Regions from separate parts of the Homo sapiens genome. Here all the other regions are linked to region 3. Evidence: promoter capture Hi-C in 16 types of primary human blood cells and fetal thymus (Javierre and others, 2016). All regions are on one chromosome and are shown on one strand. The core of a region is centred on a gene start or on the middle of the fragment in contact, and the rest is flanking DNA. Distances in the headings are between cores, read along the strand shown. Region 1 overlaps ENAH (ENAH actin regulator). Region 2 overlaps PARP1 (poly(ADP-ribose) polymerase 1). Region 3 holds the start of H3-3A-DT (H3-3A divergent transcript).

Evidence for each region. Contacts are between HindIII fragments. The CHiCAGO score rates a contact against its expected background, and 5 or more counts as called.
Region 1: a contact is called between a fragment that was not itself captured here and the fragment with the promoter of H3-3A-DT in region 3, in 2 of 17 cell types (non-activated CD4 T cells and naive B cells). The highest score is 7.7, in non-activated CD4 T cells.
Region 2: a contact is called between a fragment that was not itself captured here and the fragment with the promoter of H3-3A-DT in region 3, in 2 of 17 cell types (total B cells and fetal thymus). The highest score is 6.3, in total B cells.

What each region holds. Positions count from the first base shown.
Region 1 is chr1:225,549,651-225,552,469 of GRCh38, reverse strand. All of the region lies in intron 3 of ENAH (ENAH actin regulator), which reads left to right. Among named protein-coding and RNA genes, the nearest start is that of LINC02765, 83 kb to the right of the region's middle. The HindIII fragment of the contact is 1,436 bases long and covers 575-2,010 here.
Region 2 is chr1:226,403,790-226,406,942 of GRCh38, reverse strand. All of the region lies in intron 1 of PARP1 (poly(ADP-ribose) polymerase 1), which reads left to right. Among named protein-coding and RNA genes, the nearest start is that of PARP1, 2.7 kb to the left of the region's middle. RefSeq lists enhancers at 226-285, 3,114-3,153. The HindIII fragment of the contact is 1,899 bases long and covers 438-2,336 here.
Region 3 is chr1:226,061,177-226,064,017 of GRCh38, reverse strand. It overlaps H3-3A-DT (H3-3A divergent transcript), which reads left to right and starts at 1,523. Exons shown (of 2, transcript NR_185887.1): 1 at 1,523-2,841. It overlaps H3-3A (H3.3 histone A), which reads right to left and starts at 1,302. Exons shown (of 4, transcript NM_002107.7): 1 at 1,207-1,302. RefSeq lists silencers at 894-963, 1,582-1,747, 1,334-2,183. The HindIII fragment of the contact is 4,693 bases long and covers 750-2,841 here.

The sequences.
Region 1 (2,819 bases), core at 43-2,542, 510 kb after region 3:
AGCATGGGAGAGAGTAAGATGTTAAGAATCAGGGCCGGGCACGGTGGCTCACGCCTGTAATCCCAGCACTTTGGGAGGCTGAGGCGGGTGGATCACGAGGTCAGGAGATTGAGACCATCCTGGCTAACATGGTGAAACCCTGTCTCTACTAAAAAATACAAAAAAATTAGCCGGGCGTGGTGGCGGGCGCCTGTAGTCCCAGCTACTCGGGAGGCTGAGGCAGGAGAATGGTGTGAACCCGGGAGGCGGAGCTTGCAGTGAGCTGAGATCGTGCCACTGCTCTCCAGCCTGGGCGACTGAGCAAGACTCTGTCTCAAAAAAAAAAAAAAAAAAAAGAATCAGGAGTGTTCTTGGGAATAGATATAATTTCTTACGCAGATTCTCCAGTGTAGAAAAGGTATGTACCCTACCCCAACATTATATGGGCCACCTCCCCTTTATCTAAACAAACATACCCAATAATGTCACCTCTCAGTTTGATCATACCCTGCCAAAAATCTTTGCTTTGGATTCACAGCCAATTGGCTGCTGAAATCATCTACTGTCTTTCTTCCAAAACCAAGTTGAAAAAGCTTAACTTACATCTCCCTTCCCTTTACAAACTGTAGCCTGATAAAACTGATGAGAAGCAGAACAAACTTATTGATAAAGCAACTACAAATATTAGTCTTGCCTGTTTCTTAATGTTTTACCACTTGTTAAAACATTTTTCCATATTAAACATTTCTGTTTGTATTTTTATTTATTAGGTGCTAATATCAATATTATCCACTGTTGTCATCGGCTAATCCTTCTCAGTGATTTTCAGACTTTAAAAAGTTATGGACATTTTTGTGCAAATGAGATCTTTGGTAGTTCAGTGTATAAATGGACAGAAAATATGGAGCTTCTCTGATTGATATAGGGTTCCGGATCCGCAACCACTGAGATGCCTCCATGGTTCTCTAGAACTGAATTTGAAAATTACTAGCTCACGTTTTGTGCTAAAACCAATAATCACATAATTTTCCTTTCCTCTTCTTCCGTGTCCCCTACGTCCTCAAATTTTTTAAATTTATAAAAAACAGCTTTCTGGGGGGCTAGTCATACCAACCTTTACAAGGTGCTCTGTGTGTTTGTGTGATATTTCCTTTTTTTAATGAAAATGGTGGGTGGCAGAAATGTTTTCCTTTATTTTGTTTTTAACTTGGTATGCAATTATCTAATATACTGGAAAGTACAGAAGGTGCTAAATACAGTGAGTTATATTTGGAAGTTAAAAAAACACAAATCACATGTTCTAACATTTTTGAAAAAGAGCTGAATTAGTGCTCTTCCTTTTATACCAAATGCTACAGTGTATTTTTTCCTTTCTCCATGGAAATGGATTCAATTTTAAATGGGTGTATTACCTAAAGTGATATTTTTGATTTCTCTATTATTTATCCAGTACATTTATAGATTTTTATAGGTAATAGTTATGGATTATATAAACTACAAAGTTAATTTTTGTGATAATTGGTGGAGGCAAATTTGCCCAACTTTTATTTTCTTAAAAGGTTTAAATCATTTGAAAATAGGAAATAATTTTTAAATCCAAAAAAAAGAAAATTATATGCATAACCAGTAAGATTATCCCACTGCTTTTGTTCTCAGCCAAGATGAAGCATGCCTTTTCAAAAAGAACACCCCAAAATAAGTATTTTACCATTATCTAAAAGACTACTTTTGCTGGGTTTTATTTTTTAATCTATTGAACATGAGAACATGGTCAAAAGTCATACCTTCCTTATGGTTGAAATTTTCTAGAGGTTTTATAATATTGAGATTTCATTTTTTAATGATAATTTGGCCTGACATACCTTCCAGTATGTACATTTGTATGAGTTTTATCACAGCATTTAAAAATCTCTTTATGTTTGGAATTAATAGGATTAAAAAAATCTCAGTAGTTTCTAGAAATACTTTATAGTGACAGTTTTGTTTTTTAGTCTTCCAGATTGTTGATATTAATGCAAACAATATTAAGCTTATATCACAAAAATATTTTCAGTAAAGCGTATTTTTTATAAACTGTGTTAGGCACTGGGAATAATACAAAAATGATAAATAAAGCCTGTCCCTTGCCTGATGTCACAGTCGGGCTACAGCTGCCAGAAACAAGGCCAGCAAAATTAGGATACAGCTTGCGAATGTAGTGTGAAGAAAGGCCTTCGGAATACCAAAGAAAATTCTAGGGTCAGGGAAAGCTTTGAAGAGAAGGTGATGTTTCAGCTATGTTTGAAGAATGGGGAGGGCTCATCAGTGATAGAACATTCTAGATAGGTTTGGAAGCATGAGAGCATGGAGCAATTGGGAAATAACAAATATGCCATGATGTGGCTTGGACATGAGAATTTATGTGGTGGGGGTCAGGAGCAGGGCATCCCAAGAGATAAGGTTGGGAAGGGCCTAGTGCTGACGAGTGTGCATGTTATCATGGAGGTGGTGAAGAGTCATTGAAGGATGCTAAATAAAGGATTGATATGATCAAGTTTGTGCTTTAGGACAAGTGTGGTGAGCATGCAAGTTTACAAGCATGAAGATCAATTCAGGACACTGTTGTAATAATACCGGTGAGAAAGATGAGGCCTGAACTGACAAAGTAGAGAGAGGAGAGGAGCAGAATGAAGAGGAGGTGACCAGCTTTCATTTAGTGCTGGCTATACCTGCCACGGCAGTGTTCTAGCTTTCTACCTTTGTCCTCACATAGAAATTAAAGCCATTCTGAGGCAGGAATAATGATCTATTTATTGGTCACCTTCTGTGTGCTTGGTCTTAATCTGGCGTATACATAACCA
Region 2 (3,153 bases), core at 138-2,637, 340 kb before region 3:
TAGTGCTCATGGTCAAGGTAGCTTGATTTTCCTCCCTTCCATGAGCTGTAATGTGTTTTAGGAATGACCAGATATCCCTCAGTGGATTTTCAGTACTTAGTACAAGGGAGGGCGACATTTACCGAGTGGATACCCAAGTGCCAGGTGTACTTCCGTTATCTTATTTCACAATATGCCTGTCATCTTGGTGTCCTCGGGGCATACCTAAGTCAGTACGTGGCACACAGTGCTTATTTGGTAGGCATTTTTTAAGTTCTAAGCACTCTGTTAGGTTTTAAGGACACAGAATCCACCTTTGGGAATTTCCAGTTTGGTTAAACGGGAAATGACTGGTAAACAAACGTTACCGTAAGAGAGGATGGATGCCACCTGATGGAGCTGTGCTCTAGGCATTGTGTGCCTAGGAGTCCGAGATGACCCAGCTAAGGGTGGAAGCTTGATTAGGAGTCGTTAATTCACAGAAGTGGAGCAGAAAGATGAGAATAGGGAAGTAGACAGGGCCTACAATTTGAAGAGCCTTGTTGCCCACTAAGGAACCTAGAACTTACTTTGAATATACAAGGCAGCCTGTTATGAAGTTCTCACTCCTGGTGCAGGAGCTCTTAACCCAGGGTCTGTGGGATGGTAGGTAGAAGGCAAGAGGTCCATGAGTTTAGATAAGAAAAAATTGATATCTCCATCTCCACTAACCTCTAGATAAAATTATTTCCTCTAATCATAAATGTAAGCAGCAAAGCAAAGGCATATTAGCAGTCCCTATTTTTTTTTCACCAGTGATAATTACAGATATTTTCATATCACTTTACAGTTGGAAGTTTTTCAAAATATAATTTACTCTCATTGCTACAAAAATCACAGTTATTAGAGGCTGTACTAGATCTTGTTATTTAATGCTTAAAAGCTCACGGGTTACTGTACCCAAATTACCTTTCAAATGTTTTGATAATTATCTCAGTGTTTCCTTTTCGAGCCTTTTTGTTTGTTTTGTTTTTTGAGATGGGGTCTCACTATGTTGCCCAGGCTGGTCTCAAACTCCTGAGCTCAAGCGATCCATGCACCTCGGCCCCACAAAGTGCTAGGGTTACAGGCATGAGCCACCGTGACTGGCCATTTGCGAGCCTTTTTATTACGCATTTTTAAATGTTATTCTGAGAAAGGGACATCCAGGCGCCTTAACAGGTGGGCAGAGTACCGTGTTCTGGTGGAAAGACAAACAAAACCCAAGTCCAGACTGTGTTGAGGCTAGAACAACACCGCTGTGGAGGAAGTTAGAGGAGGCTTAGCTGTGGGGGAGGCCGGATGGAGGAAACTGAACCTGATCAAGTTTAGCATTCTGGGGCCGGGCTTGGTGGCGCATGCTTGTAATCTCAGCACTTTGGGAGGCTGGGGTGGGCAGATTACTTAAGCTCAGCAGTTTGAGACCAGCCTGGCCAACATGGTGAAACCTGTCTCTACAAAAAAATGCAATGATTAGCGGGTCGTGGTGGTGCGTGCCTGTTAAGTCCCAGCTACTCCGGAGGCTGAAGCTGGAAGATTGCTTGAGCCTGGGAGGTGGAGGTTGCAGTGAGCTGAGATAGTGCCACTGCACTCCAGCCTGGGCGACAGACCCAGACCCAGACCCAGACCCTGTCTGAAAAAAAAAATAGTAATAACAACATTCTGGGCTTTCCTTTGGTATACTTGATAGTGAAAGAAACTCTTTATTATTAAAAGTAACTGTGATTTTTATGTAATGGTGATTAAGGGTGGATTCAGAGTTTTAATTCAGAATTTAAAGTTGGTCTGGTAGACTGAGCTGGTGAAGGCCAAAAAGAAAGAAGCCTTTTCACTTGCTTGAATTTAAATACCTTCTTTTACATTTACATGGGAGTATTGTTCTCTGAGTATCTGATACCTGACACTTTAGCCCTCATGCCTGGGGCATCTTGGGAGGGATGAGCTGGGCCCTCCAGCATTTTGGTGGGAGGAGGATGGCGGTAGACCTTTGAGTTGCTCTGTCCTGGGAGGGTTTGAGCACCCGGAGGCATGCAGTGAGGTCAGTTCATTCTCTCTGTGGCCTAGGTGGACAGGTAGCATGGCCTGTTCTGCACAGAAGGGAACCCAGTTCACCAGCTGCTGGTTGGGTGAGGACCCTGGTATGTTAGGTGCTCAGTTTTTGCTTGGGTGCACAGCCAAAGATTCTGTGCCTTGCCTCAGCTGTGCAGCTAACAAATGGAGTCGATAGTCTTGTGACCTTGGTTTGGTGCCTTTCTGCCACATCATTCTCAGTCCTGAGTTTAGGGCAAAGCATTGCTTTGGTCAGGGGTGCTTCTGCTGAGGCTCTTGTCCTCTAAGCTTGTGCTGTGATTGCACCATTGGGCAGCACCTCCAGGGTGTCCAGCACTGTGCCGGTGGTTGGGGGAGACAGCACCCAGACCAAAGGGCAGCAGGTCTGGGGCCCCTGGCAGAGCCAGGAAGAAGTGCCATAGCCATTACCTGTGCTCTTTATACAAGGGTAACTGGAACATTGCACAGGAAGGGTAGACAAGGGGTAGACAAGCAGGCAGAGCCAGGTCGAGGCCATTGCAAATATTCCATGATAGCCAGATGCTTAGGGATCTGTATCAGCAGCCTAATTGAGATCTGGTGGAACGTTTGAGAGTTGGAACATGAGTATGCTCTCAGAAATGCCATTTGTTGTCTCTTCTACAGCAGGAATTTCCCCATCCTTCCTTTTTTGTTCCATCTGACTTGGAGCCCTAAGCAAACACTGCGTGCCCTCTGTGACATGTTGCTAGAGAATAGCAAGATAGGCCCTTATGAAATAATCACCAAATGCATAGTTCTTAGTGAGGGGAGCTGTGGAAGGAGCATTGGGAGATCTGAGGGAGTGCTCTGAACAGGGCTGGAGAGCATTCCAGACCCAGGGGAAAGCTGATGTTGAGGAGTCCTTGTGCTGCCATAGTCTTAGCTGTGCATTTTAATACATCACATCCAGAAAGAGGCCACTCACAGTGGAGAGAGATAGTGGGGTACCTTATCATTGCTTTTCCAGAGTATTTTCCCTGTCCCCGCAACTCCATCCTAAAAATTCAGCACATTTACTTTTAATGCTGTTTTAATAGTCTTATTGCATCTGTGTGACATTTAGCTTTATGTTCTATAAAAGCAGAT
Region 3 (2,841 bases), core at 274-2,773:
ATGTCTGTAAACATTCCATCCACAAACAAGTCAAAAGAAAAAAGGCACAAACCACTGGAAGGTCGAGTCAAATTACAGCAAAAAAAAGGTCTTACTCCCCCCCACTTTGGCTGCCCCCCCTTCGTCTGACTGTTGATGGATTGCTGTAAATATCTGAAAATATTCTTGGTTTTGCATCTTTACAGTTATGTTGACAAAAAGGCGTCTCGAAAAAACAAGAGAGGAACAACAGCTACCACCAGCGAGCATTCTACAAAGCCCCGTCCTCGCGTCCAGTCCTCACAGGCTTCGCAGTGAAATAAAAAGTGCCCCGCACCCAGGCTTTAATTAACGCACGACATCCGCCGACCGGTCCACCCCAAGCACCACATAAACTTTTGGTTTTGCCTCCTTCGGGTCCCTCGGCACAGGGTCCCCCAACCTGCCCGCCTCGCTCCCAGCGCCTCGAGCAGGAACCAACTCGGCTCCCCGACCAGAACAAAATGGAAACAATCGCAAAACGTATCCGATTCCGTTCCAAAGAGACAAAACACCAAATCGCTCGAAAATACCCCTATCCCCTGCCACGTGCCGCCCTCCAAAATGCAAAAGTTTTTTTTGCATTTCAAATGCATCAAGTTTCCGCCTCTCCAAAAAAGGGAAAAAAACGTCCCTCTTTTAAAAATTCTTGCTTTTTTGAAATGGGGAAGAGAGAAACGGGGGAAAAAATATGGTCGGTGACCAGAGAAGAGAGACAAGATGGTGAAGCTTAGCAACAACTGTGGGGAGGCAGCAAAAAGCGAGTTACCCCAGGGTGCGAAGCGGCGGCGATTTCCACCCCTTTCCCGCTCGAAAACTGGGGGCTGGGGCCCGGGGGCGGTAGTTAAGAGGCCCGCGCGGGTCATGGTGAAGGTTTGGGGTCCGGGGAAGGGGCGGCGGGCGGGATTTCACCGAAGAAAGAGGAGCCAGGGGCGCGGGGAGGAGGAGGGAGAGCAGGCTCGGCGCCGCGGCGGTTGCTGCTGTTGGGCTGAGGCGGCGAGAGACGGGGGAGCCGCCGCCGCCAGAGGGAACAGGGAAACTCGCTCCTCACCTCCATTTCTGGGCCAAAAAGTTTGTGGGCTAAGCCGGAGGGGCTATGGGTCCCCTCCCGGCACCGCCAGGGCCCGGCTCGGGGCTGACGGCAAGCGGGGCTCGGTTCCGGGGAAGCGGGCAGACGGGGAAACTTACCCCCCTTCTCCTTCGGCTGGAGCTCGGCGAGCGAGAGGCGGCGCTGGCGTTGGAGAGCGACGGCGGCGCGGCGGCGGCTGCGAACACAATTGAAAGATGGCTGACACCGAGGCTATCCCCCAACACACGCCGCCCCGCCCCCGCGCCGCGCGCCAGCCAATCACACACAATGGAGGGAAGGCTCGGCCCCGCCCCCATAGCTCCTCTCGCGCCCCGCCCCCGCCCTTCCCCCCGCGCGCCCGTTCGCTGGCGCGCGCTCGCCCCTCCCCCGCGCGCCGCCCGCTCCCTCCTCCAGGCCGCCTCGCGCCGTGTGTGTACAAACACAAAAGACACGCTGAGGGGCCGCCGGCTCCCGCCGAGACTGCCGCCCGCACCCGGCCAGCCCCCGCCCCCGGCCCTGCACTCCCATCCCGCTCCGTGTGCGCACGGCGTCGAACCCCCGAAGCCCGGGTTTGGGGCGCCCGGAGGGAAGTGGGGGGAGGGGAAGGCGGGCGGAGGCGCGGCGGGTGAACGCCCGGCCTGCGGGCGTCTCGGGCCGCGGCGGGGAGGGGAGGGAGGGGCTGCCCCCGCGCGGGCCCCGGCGCGCGCCCCCGAGGAGACCCGGGCGGCAGTGGGGGAGGAGGACGCGGTCGGCCGGGTCGCCGCGCCCCATTGGAAAACGCTCCCCAGCAGGAAGCTGGCAAATAGGAATCCAGCGTCCCGCGCCCGCTGTCGGACCTGGCCGCTGCGGCAGCGGGAGGGGCGGACCGACGGCCTCCTTCCCGCCTGCGCGCTCGGCCAAGTGCGGCCGGGTCCTGCGGGACCGGCCCGAGTCCGCCGTAGACAACTTGATCCGCTAAGACTCCTGGGCCGGCCGCCTGCGTGCAGGGCAGCCCCTCGCCGGTGTTGGCCTCCGGGATCAGGGGACGGGGCTCGCTCTCCTCCCGGGCCCGGGCCCCCGACGCAAGATGGCTGTGTCGCGTCGGCCTCTAAACAATGTGTGGAGCGCGCAGCTCCTGCACCAGGGCCTGGTGGCTTGTCCTGCCCGCCCGTGGGGGCCGTGTGATCTGTTTTCGGTAGGATTGCTTTGGAAAGGAATTGCCGAATATAGATAGTCAAATGTCCGCAGCTTCTGCATAGTTTAGAAGAGGCTGAAAACGGCAGAAAGAAGGCAAACGTGGTTTGGGAATTAGTACATATACCTGTTTTCCAATTCTCAGTAGCATAGGAAACGGACTTTTCATGGCCCAAGTTATCCTCACGACTTGTCAGTTGATTGGCTTTGGAACCTCTGAACCGTCCCTAGATGGTATTGACGCTTCACAACTGTGTGTAAAGGTTTTCAATGGAAGGGTCATGCAAATATCCCGTAGGGTAGTGAAGGAGGAAAATTTCATAAATGAAGGGCAGTAATTATTTGTAATCTGAAGATCTCACAAAGCGGCTTAGTGATAAACATTATCCCGAAACAGATACATGGAAATCAGATACGAGGGAAGAAATGGATTTGTCCAAGGTCACTTAAGTGAGGAAGAGACCTAGGAGAAACAAACAGACAAAAATCCAGGCCTCCCGTTTCATTATTATTTCATGAATGTTAAGTGTCCATGGTTGCTGTGCAGAACACATGCAATCTCTAATCCTATCCTAAAAGCA